Regions from separate parts of the Homo sapiens genome. Here regions 1, 3, 4 and 5 are each linked to region 2. The links are contacts of gene promoters, found by promoter capture Hi-C in blood cells and fetal thymus (Javierre and others, 2016). All regions are on one chromosome and are shown on one strand. The core of a region is centred on a gene start or on the middle of the fragment in contact, and the rest is flanking DNA. Distances in the headings are between cores, read along the strand shown.

Evidence for each region. The method cuts DNA at HindIII sites, captures the fragments that hold promoters and counts their contacts. A CHiCAGO score of 5 or more calls a contact.
Region 1: a contact is called between a fragment that was not itself captured here and the fragment with the promoter of KCTD9 in region 2, in 1 of 17 cell types (neutrophils). The highest score is 7.5, in neutrophils.
Region 3: a fragment that was not itself captured here is called in contact with the fragment with the promoter of KCTD9 in region 2 in 1 of 17 cell types (fetal thymus); the score reaches 6.1 in fetal thymus.
Region 4: a contact is called between a fragment that was not itself captured here and the fragment with the promoter of KCTD9 in region 2, in 1 of 17 cell types (naive CD4 T cells). The highest score is 5.5, in naive CD4 T cells.
Region 5: a contact is called between a fragment that was not itself captured here and the fragment with the promoter of KCTD9 in region 2, in 2 of 17 cell types (non-activated CD4 T cells and total CD4 T cells). The highest score is 8.1, in non-activated CD4 T cells.

Annotation. Positions count from the first base shown.
Region 1 is chr8:28,097,902-28,100,629 of GRCh38, reverse strand. It overlaps ELP3 (elongator acetyltransferase complex subunit 3), which reads right to left. Exons shown (of 15, transcript NM_018091.6): 3 at 664-802. Among named protein-coding and RNA genes, the nearest start is that of ELP3, 6.1 kb to the right of the region's middle. The HindIII fragment of the contact is 3,785 bases long and covers 1-2,728 here.
Region 2 is chr8:25,457,087-25,459,786 of GRCh38, reverse strand. It overlaps KCTD9 (potassium channel tetramerization domain containing 9), which reads left to right and starts at 1,354. Exons shown (of 12, transcript NM_017634.4): 1 at 1,354-1,588. The coding sequence starts at 1,541. CDCA2 (cell division cycle associated 2) reads right to left here and starts at 554. Exons shown (of 15, transcript NM_152562.4): 1 at 314-554. RefSeq lists enhancers at 656-885, 2,256-2,305 and silencers at 1,026-1,235, 1,596-1,645. The HindIII fragment of the contact is 4,823 bases long and covers 1-2,700 here.
Region 3 is chr8:27,596,098-27,598,797 of GRCh38, reverse strand. CLU (clusterin) reads left to right here. Exons shown (of 9, transcript NM_001831.4): 8 at 163-338; 9 at 548-1,881. The coding sequence ends at 557. LOC124901919 (a long non-coding RNA gene) reads right to left here. Exons shown (of 2, transcript XR_007060868.1): 2 at 1,239-1,731. Among named protein-coding and RNA genes, the nearest start is that of MIR6843, 13 kb to the left of the region's middle. The HindIII fragment of the contact is 624 bases long and covers 1,075-1,698 here.
Region 4 is chr8:27,780,443-27,783,142 of GRCh38, reverse strand. All of the region lies in intron 4 of ESCO2 (establishment of sister chromatid cohesion N-acetyltransferase 2), which reads right to left. Among named protein-coding and RNA genes, the nearest start is that of ESCO2, 7.2 kb to the right of the region's middle. The HindIII fragment of the contact is 1,756 bases long and covers 532-2,287 here.
Region 5 is chr8:27,760,235-27,762,934 of GRCh38, reverse strand. It overlaps CCDC25 (coiled-coil domain containing 25), which reads left to right. Exons shown (of 9, transcript NM_018246.3): 3 at 477-516. Among named protein-coding and RNA genes, the nearest start is that of CCDC25, 11 kb to the left of the region's middle. The HindIII fragment of the contact is 4,892 bases long and covers 1-2,700 here.

The DNA of each region.
Region 1 (2,728 bases), core at 146-2,645, 2.6 Mb before region 2:
CACTTAAGATTTTTACAAGCTGATCCCAAACTACCTGTTCAACGCACAGTCCTACTCTCCTGAACTGTTAACACCCTTCAGTCTGGCGTACTCGCTATTTCCTGCGTGCACCACGCCCTTCCTGTCATTTCTACCTCTGTGCCTTAGCCCCTGTGTCCTTGCTCCCATGACACTTAGAGCCTGCTCTTCTTGGCTTATGGGTCAAGCAAGCTGTGTGCTTTCTACTGGGCCTTCCCCAGCCCCTTTTGCTGCAGGGACATCGCTGTTGTCTGGACTTCCACAGTGCTCATAATCACCATATACAGAACTACTTTGCACCATTAACTACCTTTCAAAAGTACCTTTCATAAGCATCAATTATATTGAAAGCTACCAGCTTAAGATGGCCAACATTTATCCTGTTATGATTGTCACCAAGCCTAAATCTATATTTTTAAAGAGGTCAAAACATCATCTACTCCTTTAATCACAATTATATTTTTTTCTCTCTCTGCTCTCCTTGCATTCAGCACAGGTCTCCACTCCAGCACATATCCTAATACAGGGACTTCATTAGTTCAGAATCCCCAACCTCTACCTCACTACACGGGCGTCACATGGAGCAGGGACTTCTGCCAGAACAGATACCCAGTGTGTCGATACCTCATGAGTCGAATCACTCACCCCACTAGCAGTTCTGATGGGTTTCGCCTTTAACTTGGGCATCAAGACCTTGCGATACTGAGGAGGGACGGCAGCAATGATATCCACCAGGCGGGGCTGGGCAGAAAGGCCATATTTGGCAGCTGTCTTGGTTTTCACCCTGAAAGTAAAGCATCTCACATTATCAAGATTACGGTTATTTAAGGACAAGCTACCAAGAGGATGATCTATAAACAACATCATTAACAACTGTCACTCTCCAATCCCTTCACCACGTGACAAGGATAGTTTTAAGATCTGTGACTATCAGGGAAATAGAAGAATAAAATTCACGAGTGAATGACTACTTCCCACCCTTGAGTACCAGAAAGAAAACCAGAGGACTATGGAGGGAGAAGGGTCCCTGGACGATGACACAATATAGATCTAGTTCAGAATAGTGCTGCAGCTTCAAAGGACTATTCTGACTCCACCTTTCTCAACCTCAGCACTACTGATGTTTGGGACCACACAGTTCTTTGCTGTGGCAGGTGGCCAGCGAATTGAGGGATGTTTAGCAGCATCCTTGGTCTCTATGTACTACCAGCCTTCTTCTTGTCTTCCTGTTGTAACACTCAAAAATGTCCCTAGACATTGCCAAATGTCCTGAGGAGGAAATCACCCCTGGTTGACAACTACTGTCTTAGACAAAACAACAACAACAATTAAAAAAAAAATCAAGGATGGCTATGCAGAACCAAATAGGAAATAAAGTACATATTTTTGAAAGTTTAAAAAAAACTTTTACCAGCTTTTCTTTGTGCCTCCTAGCCAAACTCTTAACAGTCACCCTGTCTTCTAACTTTAATCCATCTAGAAATATCTGTGAAGTGCTCACATATTTGTCAACAAATATTAACTGAGGACCTAACACGTACAAGAGGCTGCCTGAATACCTGCTATGTTCAAATGTGCAAGGCACAGTCCTTTCATGTTCTATGTTTACATGTTTGCAGACAGGCGTACCAAGAAAATTAATGTATAAATGATTAAAACATATGTCATAAAACACACACACATACCAACAATGAATGCTTCCAGAGTTCAGGGAGGAATCTGATGTGTGCTGGGGAGATATTCATGGAAATGAGCACAGAAGAAAGAGTAGGTCTCAGTCACTAAAGACACAAAGATGACATGGAGGGCAGACAGGCTGATTTATGTGCAGATGCAAAAACAGGAATGCATATATTTTAAGAAATACAAGCAGACCAACTTGACAGAAAGCAGAAGATTTTCAATGTAAAGGTACAGAGGTTTAAAAACTTGGAAAAGCAGGTTGAAGCCAGACTGAGAGACCTTCCAGTAATAGGCTGGTGACATCTGAGGAGGGGCGAGTTTTAAGGACGATGGCAGCTTTAGCTTTAGATGTGCTAAATTAAAGAGAACAACAAATATATATAAGATGTAGAAATGTTCACTAGAAATTAAAGATTTGTATAATCAGGGGTATAACCAACAAAAAAAGAAAGAAAAACTTCTAAAGACACGGTAGAAAAATCAGTAAAATACAATAACTTTATAGTCAAAAGAGGATATTTACTTATTCCTGTAGCAAATATTTACTAAGCATGAGGATTCAAGGAAGGGGTAAAATATTGCAGCATCTCAAGTATCAGAGAAGAGAGTCTAAGAAAAGGTCATTCCTGTATGTGATGATTAGACGACCTGGGGTTGGGGAGAGAACCCTTTCATTAGGGAAGATCTACATAGAGTGAATATATATTATAGTTTGAAAAAAAAAATAGATGCAGAGATGAAAGACAACTCTTATTTGAGACTGTAGGAAAGTCCAAGCTGAAAATGATTATGGAGAGGAAGTGGATGAATGTGTCAAAGAGGTTCTACAGCAGGGGAGGGTTGGATTAGATCAGGGGCCCCAAAGGGAGGGTTTTCCTGACAGAAAGCTGCTGCTTCAGCTGAGACAGTAGGGAAGGAAAGTAGGATGTGCAGCGATGCAGCACAGAAGAACATGGGCTCTGGAGACGGCTGACCTAATTCCAAATCCCAGCTCTGCCAATTACTAGTTACTTACCCCTGGACAAAT
Region 2 (2,700 bases), core at 105-2,604:
CTCTAAGCGCGTACTTTTAAAGCCAAATTAAACAGAAAGAAATGGAGAAAACTGCTGTTCAGGCACCAAAGCAGACCCCAAAGGATAAGCCATGGCTTTTCAACCGTAGCGAAAACCTGAATCATAAGGGTACCCCTCTCAAGACGCAGCTCTATCCATTTCCAGAAATTCTCTCAACAGGTCCGGATGCACTCCTGGTCACCCAGAGCAGCTCCTGACAGGAGTACTAATTCTGTGCTGCAGGGTAAGCCGAACAAAGTGCCTAGAAATGCCCCGGAGAAACAGCCCCGTGGCAGCGCGGATGCAATCCTACCTCTCACGCCGCACCTGAAGGCCCGCCAGGCAGACAGGCTTACTCCCAGAGCCCCGTGGCAGGCGAGCGTCGCGTCGGCCGCTCCTTCCAGACCCCGGCTCCTCTGTCCGGAAGGGCTCTCCTGGCAAAGCACCCGCAGCCGGGAGCCGCTCTTCGAACCCGGAGCCCGAGGTCCCGACGGCTGACCTGGACTCACAGCCTGCGCTGATCCTGGCCTGCGCTCTGCCCGGCAGCCTCCTCCACCCGCCTCCTCCGCCCGCCGACCGATTCAAATCCCCGACCCCGCCCCTCGGTACCGAATTTACTCTACGAATCACTCCGCCACCTCCCCCTTCTCCAGTCCGCGCACACTCCGAGCGCTCCCAGGCCTCTCCCTCGGCACTGGAGTGGCTTCCTGGGCTCGGAGAGGGACCACCGCGAGCTGCAGTCAACCCGAGGACTACAGACACCTGCCACTGCCTTGTGACCTCGGGGACTACTTTTCAGGAGAGTCTCGCGGAGTAACGCTTCTCTTAGCGCTTTAACTCCGCCTCCCACCTTTCTATTGGATGCTGCAAACTTCGAAAAGACTCATTCAACCAATCCTAACAGAGCGACGAGCTGGCTCTTACCCAATCAGTCCGTCCCTACCGCAGCCGTTTCCTAGCTGGGCCGGCTTGTGGGCGGGGCTAACGCTGGAGGAGGGGCTGACTGGTGCTTGGGTCCCTTTCAGCGCTCCACCTCCTTTCCCCAGACCCCGCCCTCGTATGCAGATAAGCGCTACCTAAACTAGAGGGTGCGCCTGCTCAGTAACGCTGGAAGCCGCCGTCCGGCTCCAGGAGCCTCTCTGATTGGCTGATGCCCCTTCCCGTCTACTAGCCTTCAGCGTCTCTTCCCTCCCTCCGTCCCGGCTAGGTTAGCCAGAGCCCGCCCGATACTGGGTGCTGATTGGCTGGACTCTGTCCGGTGACGCGGGTTGGTTGGTACGGCAGAGTGTCAGTCTCGGAGAGGTGGGGGAAGGGCCCCAGGCAGGCTGAGGAGCCTAGGGGCGGGGTGGGAAGGAGGACCGGCCGAACCTTGGGTGTGGGACAGAGTGCGTGCGTGTGGTGTGTCCCCAAGGGCAGGAAGGTGGCGAAGGGAGGCGAATCCGAGTGGGTGGAGGGAGGGGAAGGGCGGGAGGAGAAAAAGGTGGGAGGAGGACCAGGTGGGAGGGTGGCGGCTCACTCAGGACCCAGCGGGGGCAGCGCGATGAGGCGGGTGACCCTGTTCCTGAACGGCAGCCCCAAGAACGGAAAGGTAACGGGGGCGTGAGGGGGCGCGGCGGGCCGGGGGTCGGGGCGAGGGCGGACGGTGCGGAACCGGCTGGCGGGGCAGCGGTGAAGTTGGGTAGAGGGGCTGGGAGGTGGGCGTGCGCGGGCTGGGGGCGCTCGGGGACAGCACAGGGTCCCCGCGGCCTCCTCCCGACCCTCAGGACCCCCGTGCCCGAGCCTGCCCTTCAGTGCCTCAGCTGCCTGGGGGCCGGCGCGGTTCGGCCCGGGGGCTCCGGGTCTCCCGGATGCTTGGTGCGGGGGGCGCGGGGACGGGGGCGCGGGGAGGGCCGCGGTCACCTGGGCGCCCGGGCGGTCGCGCCTCTTCCCGCCTCTCCCCGAGACCCCGCTCCCGCCTGCGGGAGGAGGCGCGCCGGCTCCGGTGCTGAGTAATGATCTGCTCGGAAAGTGGCGGCGAGCACCAGAGCCTGTGGAGATGGGTCAGGGAGACAGAAGTAAACTGCCCGTGGATAAACAAAATCTCCCATCCGAGGTCGCAGACAGGATTTTTAAAATGGGGGCATTTTCTTGTTGATTTTTGCCCTCCTCTCTGAGATGCCTCAAGCCCCCACGCCCCGCCGCCGCCAAACTTCTCTGTACTCTTTTTATTATTTTGCCTTATTTTGATTCCCTAGAGGACGGGTACAGCAGACCCAAAAGGGATCGATTTGACAGTCGCCTTTGCTGTGTTAGGCCTTTGCGGAGAGTGTGGTGCTCAGTGTTCTTCCAGCGCTGGAGCAAGCCAAAACGAATTCTCTTCCTTCCCAGCCTTTTGCCCCACCCATGAAAGTTGTTCTGCTCCTTTGGGAAATTTTCACTGTTCGAGGCAGACATTTATTGCGTTGCTAAATGATACCTAGAAGTAACTCAGCCTTTACGAGTCTAAGGTAAAGGTAAATGGGTCTCGCTGTGTTGGTTGCCAAAATACTCTGCTGCCTGCACATTCGGGGAACACTGTAAATTTTTAAATAGTGAAATTGTCCAGTGGCATTAAAAATGGCTTTCCGATTATTCAGTGTAGAGTAAACATGCTCCGAAAATTCGAACCAGAGTGTGGTTTGTTGGCTATAATTTTATGTTCTTTTGGTCTTAGAGATTTAA
Region 3 (2,700 bases), core at 137-2,636, 2.1 Mb before region 2:
AGCTGTACTTACGTCTAGATGTATAAGAAGCATGGGGTCAGCTCTCTAGGTTTCCTTGGAGAAGCAGGAGGACTTCCTTATCAGAAGCCTGACTTCTGTTGCAGAGCGCATGCATTTTGACCACAGTGTTTCAGCTCTTCCCTTTTCTCTTGTTCCATTTAGGTGGCTTCCCACACTTCTGACTCGGACGTTCCTTCCGGTGTCACTGAGGTGGTCGTGAAGCTCTTTGACTCTGATCCCATCACTGTGACGGTCCCTGTAGAAGTCTCCAGGAAGAACCCTAAATTTATGGAGACCGTGGCGGAGAAAGCGCTGCAGGAATACCGCAAAAAGCACCGGTAAGCAGGCGGGCCTTTCCTGCGGGCCTGCAGGGCCCAGTGAGTCTCTGGGAGCCACAAAAAAACAAACAAAGTGCAGACTCTATAGCCTGGTGGGAACGACTCCGCCCGGAGCCAGAGCCCAAGAACAAAGCCAGGAAGTTACGGGGGAATTTTATTTTTCCTTTGGAGGATGTTTTACTTTGGAGGATAACTGTTTTTTATTTCAGGGAGGAGTGAGATGTGGATGTTGCTTTTGCACCTACGGGGGCATCTGAGTCCAGCTCCCCCCAAGATGAGCTGCAGCCCCCCAGAGAGAGCTCTGCACGTCACCAAGTAACCAGGCCCCAGCCTCCAGGCCCCCAACTCCGCCCAGCCTCTCCCCGCTCTGGATCCTGCACTCTAACACTCGACTCTGCTGCTCATGGGAAGAACAGAATTGCTCCTGCATGCAACTAATTCAATAAAACTGTCTTGTGAGCTGATCGCTTGGAGGGTCCTCTTTTTATGTTGAGTTGCTGCTTCCCGGCATGCCTTCATTTTGCTATGGGGGGCAGGCAGGGGGGATGGAAAATAAGTAGAAACAAAAAAGCAGTGGCTAAGATGGTATAGGGACTGTCATACCAGTGAAGAATAAAAGGGTGAAGAATAAAAGGGATATGATGACAAGGTTGATCCACTTCAAGAATTGCTTGCTTTCAGGAAGAGAGATGTGTTTCAACAAGCCAACTAAAATATATTGCTGCAAATGGAAGCTTTTCTGTTCTATTATAAAACTGTCGATGTATTCTGACCAAGGTGCGACAATCTCCTAAAGGAATACACTGAAAGTTAAGGAGAAGAATCAGTAAGTGTAAGGTGTACTTGGTATTATAATGCATAATTGATGTTTTCGTTATGAAAACATTTGGTGCCCAGAAGTCCAAATTATCAGTTTTATTTGTAAGAGCTATTGCTTTTGCAGCGGTTTTATTTGTAAAAGCTGTTGATTTCGAGTTGTAAGAGCTCAGCATCCCAGGGGCATCTTCTTGACTGTGGCATTTCCTGTCCACCGCCGGTTTATATGATCTTCATACCTTTCCCTGGACCACAGGCGTTTCTCGGCTTTTAGTCTGAACCATAGCTGGGCTGCAGTACCCTACGCTGCCAGCAGGTGGCCATGACTACCCGTGGTACCAATCTCAGTCTTAAAGCTCAGGCTTTTCGTTCATTAACATTCTCTGATAGAATTCTGGTCATCAGATGTACTGCAATGGAACAAAACTCATCTGGCTGCATCCCAGGTGTGTAGCAAAGTCCACATGTAAATTTATAGCTTAGAATATTCTTAAGTCACTGTCCCTTGTCTCTCTTTGAAGTTATAAACAACAAACTTAAAGCTTAGCTTATGTCCAAGGTAAGTATTTTAGCATGGCTGTCAAGGAAATTCAGAGTAAAGTCAGTGTGATTCACTTAATGATATACATTAATTAGAATTATGGGGTCAGAGGTATTTGCTTAAGTGATCATAATTGTAAAGTATATGTCACATTGTCACATTAATGTCACACTGTTTCAAAAGTTACTTTTTCTTTTCCACTGTTATGTTGCTAGACTCTGGAACTCACTATATTCAGTGGGTTTTTTGGTTGCTGCTTCCCCCCCCCCCCGCCCCCCGAGACAGAGTCTCACTCTGTTGCCCAGGCTGGAGTGCAGTGGTGCAATCTCGGGTCACTACAACCTCCACCTCCAAGGTTCAAGCAGTTCTCCTGCCTCAGCCTCCTGAGTAGCTGGGACTACAGGCACGTACCACCACACCTGGCTAATTTTTGTATTTTTAGTAGAGACAGGGTTTCACCATGTTGGCCAGGCTGGTCTCGAACTCCTGGCCTCAAGCGATCCGCCTGCCTCAGCCTCCCAAAGTGCTGGGATTATAGGCGTGAGCCACCGTGCCAGGCCTTTATATCCAGTGTTTTGGATTTTTTTTTTACACTCTTAAATACTAGCACCCTGAAAGACAGATCCTAAAGCTGGCTCTAAAGCTTCCTGAGACCCCTTCTCTGCACCTCCTTACCCCTCTGCACAGTGGCCTGGGGTTGGGGGTCCTTAGATGTCTCTCCATCCCTGACAGAGGTTCCAACATGAGGCACTGGGAAGACTGAGTCAGCACATGATGTCACCAAGGTGTGGGGATGAGATGAGGCTAATTCTGCCTGGGGGACTGCGGACCCTGAGCCCTTAGTGTCTGGCTTCTAGGACTCTTGTGGCAAAGGGGGAGCAGGGCTTGATGTGCTGAGAAGAGAGGGATTTGACATCTGTCTGGAAAGGGAGGCAGCACCAACCCTGCTGAGCCCCTCTGTTGACACTCAACTGTCATCTGCCAGAAAATTGTAATAAGATACAA
Region 4 (2,700 bases), core at 160-2,659, 2.3 Mb before region 2:
TAACAATAAAATGTAGGCATAGGGAAATTTTAGGGTGAAGGAACTGTTCTGTATGGTACTGTAATGGCTAATACGTAATTCTATACATTTGATAAAACCCACAGAACTGTAAAAATCACAAAGAATGAACTCCAATGTACATCAAATGAGAAAAAAAAATACATATAAATATCAACCAGGCTACTGAGGTAGCCTAAGATGGAATGCAGACTGTGAGAAATGAATCTAACTATATTAGAACTGTATAGCATAACGACACTGAAGGAGGTAGGGGGAAAAAGAGAAGCTGTCCTAAGTAACTTTAGCAAATGGTGTTTTGACTAGAAGTTATAAGGATAAAGACAAAAAGATTGCACTTAAAATTGCACTCTAGGCCGAGTGCAGTGGCTCACGCCTGTCATCCTAAAAAATATATTATTTAATATATATATATTATTTAACTATATATGGAATTCTACAAAGGGAAAAAATTGAAAATATATCACATTTAGAGAAGAATGGCATGAGCTGATATAGGATTCCACAAAAGCTTACTTCAGCAATAATTACATATAGAAAAAGAGACTGAATTAGATAAGATTCATCTCAACCTCAACATGAACTATGAGATGAAAGGTAAGGGAGGCCAAGGCGGGTGGATCATCTGAGGTCAGGAGTTTGAGACCACCCTGCCCAACGTGGCGAAACCCCGTCTCTACTAAAAATACAAAAAAATTAGCCGGGCATGGTGGCAGACACCTGTAATGCCAGCTACTTGGGAGGCTGAGGTAAGAGAATCGCTAGAACCCTGGGGGCAGAGGTTGCAGTGAGCTGAGATTACGCCATTGCACTCCAGCCTGGGTGAGAGTGAGCCTCTGTCTCAAAGAGAAAAAAATTGCACTCTAATTGGTTATTTCTCACAGGGGTATGAATTAACAATTATGAAACTGTTTTACATGTTTACTGGGACAGAACAAATAAGTAGATGGATAGTGAATAGTAGGAACTAAGTGTCTCACTGTCCGAGAAGGAAGTTACAGATGAAAAAAGGATAGAATAAATCCTGGAGTACTGGATTAGAGTTGGAAATATCAACGTCCAGCTGGCAATATGCAAACAAAGAAATAAGACAGAAAATGTCACAGATAAGACTAAAGACACATGACAATTAAACGTAATATAGTACCTTGGAATGGATACTGGGACAGAAAGAAAACATTAATAGAAGATTCCAAATAAAGTTTAGAGTTTAGTTAACAGTAATATACCACTACCAATATTTGGTGAACTCCAAATAAAGTCTAGTGCTTAGGGCCAGGCACAAGGGCTTATGCCTGTAATCCCAGCACTCTGGGAGGCTGAAGTGGGGGGATCACTTGAGGTCAGGAGTTTGAGACCAGCATGGCCAACATGGTGAAACCCCATCTTAACAAAAATTAGCCGGGCATGGTGGTGGATGCCTGTAATCCCAGCTACTTGGGAGGCTGAGGCGGGAGAAATGCTTGAACCCTGGAGGTGGAGGCTGCAGTGAGCCAAGATGGTGCCACTGCACTCCAGCCTGAGCAACACAGTGAAACTCCATCTCAAAAAAAAAAAAAAAAAGTCTATACCAATACAAGTTTCTTAGTTTTGACAAAAGTATTATAACATAAGATGTTAAGAATGGAGGAAACAGGGTAAGAGATACACTGCTACTCTCTGTACTTTAACTTTTCTGTAAATCTAAAATTATGGCAAAATAAAGTCTATTAAAAGAAAAGAGCAAAGTTAAAACAGCAATTGATTTGAGGAAAATAGTAAGCTGAGAGTGGGCTAAAAAAACAAACTTTAACTTTGCATTGAAAAATAATTAGAGCTCATCCTCTAGAAACAAGGCCAAGGCAGGTGAAAGTCTGAGCTGCTATTGGTAAGTTACTTAACCCAAGTCCATTTCCTCATCTATAAATGGGCATATCAGGACCTAGAGTAGTAGGGAGAATTAAATGATAAACTGTAGTTATTAAGTAATAAAGTTTTGGTCTTTTTATATTACTTTTATGATTTCTCCCATATCCTTATACCATTTGTATTATTTTTATTCACTATTTTTCTTTAAATTGACTTAGACAATGTACTAAAATATATTTTAAAAGAAAAATTTATAACTATTTTAAGTAGATGCCTTTTTGTTATATTTTCTATTGTATCAGTGCTTTGAGCACAATCTATGAAAAACATAACGTATACTAAATATTTAGCACTGCCTTATATTCAGCACTCAGTAAATACTAGTTATTAACATCATATCTCAGAATCATAAAAAAAAGCTTTATGTATTCATAGTTTAGTAAGCTATTTAATTGAACACTGACAGCATAAATTAGGAATAGGATTTCAGAATTGACAGGAATTTAAAAATTAACTTTAACTCTTTAGAGATATCTTCCTAGATCATACAGCTAATTATTAGTAAACCTAGACAAAAATCCATGGTTCTTGATGCTTAATTTCAGTGTCACTTATAAAACTTAGTAAGTTCTGCTCACAATTGGGCTTTGATCACAAATATACATAATAGTTTTAACTTCTATTATTTTGGGTGAAAGATAGAGTAGGTATGATTTTATAATGAGAACACTCAACTCTAGAGAGCTTAAGTAACTTGGCCACAGCCATAGACCAATTAAGCCTAATATTTTGTCTAAAATTTTAACCTAGGATCTCCTTGTTTCTTGTTTTTCA
Region 5 (2,700 bases), core at 81-2,580, 2.3 Mb before region 2:
AATTTAAGGTGATTTTTATTTTCTTTTTATACTTCTAATGTTTGTTTTGTTTTAAATTTTCTGTAATTTTATAATCAAGTTAATTTTTCTTAAAGAAGTAAAATATTTCTTTAAAGTTTCAGCCAGTTCTTTTTAATGTTTAAGTATTATTAGGTGAATTGATTATCTGAAACATCTGAACTATTGGTTGCTTTGTTTTGTCAGTGTTAGTTTTATTATCTTCATATAGAAATAATATCTGAGCTTTAGATTAGAAGTATTATATAAATTTATAAAAATTATAAAGTTCATATTGTTCAATTATGAAAATTATTATTTTTTCTGTATTTTCAAGCATCAAGGCCTCCGAATTACTCTTCTTCATTGAGGGAGAGAGAAATTTGTGGGAGGAGCTGACATTTCTCCCATTCTTATAAACCCTGGCATATCTTCATTTGACAGTTTTTGTTTCTTTCGTTTCTCATATCTCATTGCAGATGAAGATCTGATCAAGCATGGCTGGCCTGAAGATATCTGGTAAGTAACAATTTTGGTTCTGCCCTCTGTAGATCATCATTTCCTTTCTTAGACTTGGCCAAGCATTCAAACTAGAATCATGCTTTGTACTGTGGTTTATGGGTCTTCAGGGTTAAACAGCTGACTGCCAGTTCCTTCATTTCTAATTACCTTGCAAGTTGGAAATGATGTTTTTGGGTTTGATCTCAGGCTTGAGAGCAAAGGCCTCTAGGACACAGGCCTTCTTTTTCCTCCTTTTTGTCTCCACGCCATAGTAAGTTACTGAGACCACACCTCACTTAAATATTCAGACCACTGTTCTTGAGTGGAAAAATGAAGACTTCACATGAAGCAATGAAGAAAATAGATACAAGCATCCATGCGGATGGAATAGACGGAGGTTCTTACTGGTCCAGCTTTAAAGGAAGCACACTTGTTCCCCTTTGTCTTCTAAACTCCCTGATGAGTTTAGCTCTGTCTTGATCCAACCCCGACGCCTTCTTTCTAAAACAATTTATGTGAACTGTTTTAAATAATAACATATACTTTCTTAGTCTCCTTTTGAGATCATTTATTTTGCTCACAAAACCCAGTCCAAAAAAAAAGAATACCAAACAAACAAAAAGACTTCATTTAAGCTGAATTCTTTTCTCTGTCTTAGAACACCATATAGACTTCTACCATTCAGACCTGGGGCCTTTTATGAATACATGGGCTTCTGTCCTATAACACTGTCACACCCAGTCTACTTTCGTTTTCTTCATCTTCAGCTTCCACCACTGACTCTGACCCTAGTATTGCCTCTCTTCTAGAGCACAGTCCTGCCTATGGAGTGGGATATCATCTTCCTGACTCCTCATACCTCCTACCAAATGCTATCCCTGAAGATAAAGGCACCTGGGTCCCGTTTGCTTTATTATGATAGTGAATATCTGTCAAGCACTTAACTATATGCCAAATACTACTAAGTGTTTACCTCCATTAATACATTTAACTTCACAACAACCCTGTGAAATAGATATTAATATTTATGCCCATTTTTTCAGATGAGGAAATTAAGGTTAAGAGAAACTGACTGGGTCTGCTCTGTCTGCTACTGGCTCTGGCTCTGGTTCTAAGTCACTGCTTCTGTCTTCTCCAGGCTGCTGCTCTTTTGGCTTCAGCTCCTTTCTTCTCCCAGGCTGTTGCTGCAGCTCTCTCTGGACCTCTTTTCTCCAAATGTGGACACAGACCCTTCACTTATTTCCCTCTAGTGATAGAGTTGGGCTACTGCTTTTTAGAAGAGTTGATTTAATTTTCTTTTTTTTTTTGAGACGGAGTTTCGCCCTTGTTGCCGAGGCTGGAGTGCAATGGTGCGATCTCGGCTCACTGTAACCTCTGCCTCCCTAGTTCAAGAGATTCTCCTGCCTCAGCCTCCCGAGTAGCTGGGACTACAGGCACCCATCATCATGCCTGGCTAATTTTTTGTATTTTTAGTAGAGACTGGGGCTATCACCACATTGGCCAGGCTGGTCTCGAACTCCTAACCTCAGGTGATCTACCCGCGTTGGACTCCCAAAGTGCTGGGATTAGAGGCGTGAGCCACCGCGCCCAGCCAGAACAAAGGAATTTTAAAGGCTTATTTAAATCTGGTCCCTATTCCAGCACAAAAACCTGTCTTCTAAATCCAAATATGTCATCAAGTTAAACCCTGCTTGGTGCTCTTTTGCCTCAAGTGGGCAGTGTGCAATGCTGAAAACATCCAGACTGGGGCTGCCCGCCTTCCTAGGGCCTGAGACAGTAAGCTGTATGAGGACAATGATCACCTATTTCATTAACTACTATGTCCCCAGTACCTAGCATAGGTCCTGGCACATAGTAGGTATTCAGTAAATATTGGTTGATTTCCTAATTGACTCCCTGCCAGCGTAGAAGCAGTCTCCATGGACATTTCCCTACAATGGCCACATCATGGTTATCTCCATTTTGAGCTCCTGCCAACCCCAGCTGGATGATTTTCAGTTGTTTTTAAAGATCTCCAGACTCTCATGGGAATAAGAATGGCTGCACCTGTTAGGCAGTTAGCTGATGGAAATTTTTAACCTATCAGGTTTGAGGCATAAAAACCTGCATAGAGAAGGTTACATAATCAGATGCAGCCTGAAAATCAGTGTACCACAGCCTTCTACCTGACTTTCATTTGTTTAAATAAATGGAAGAGAAATT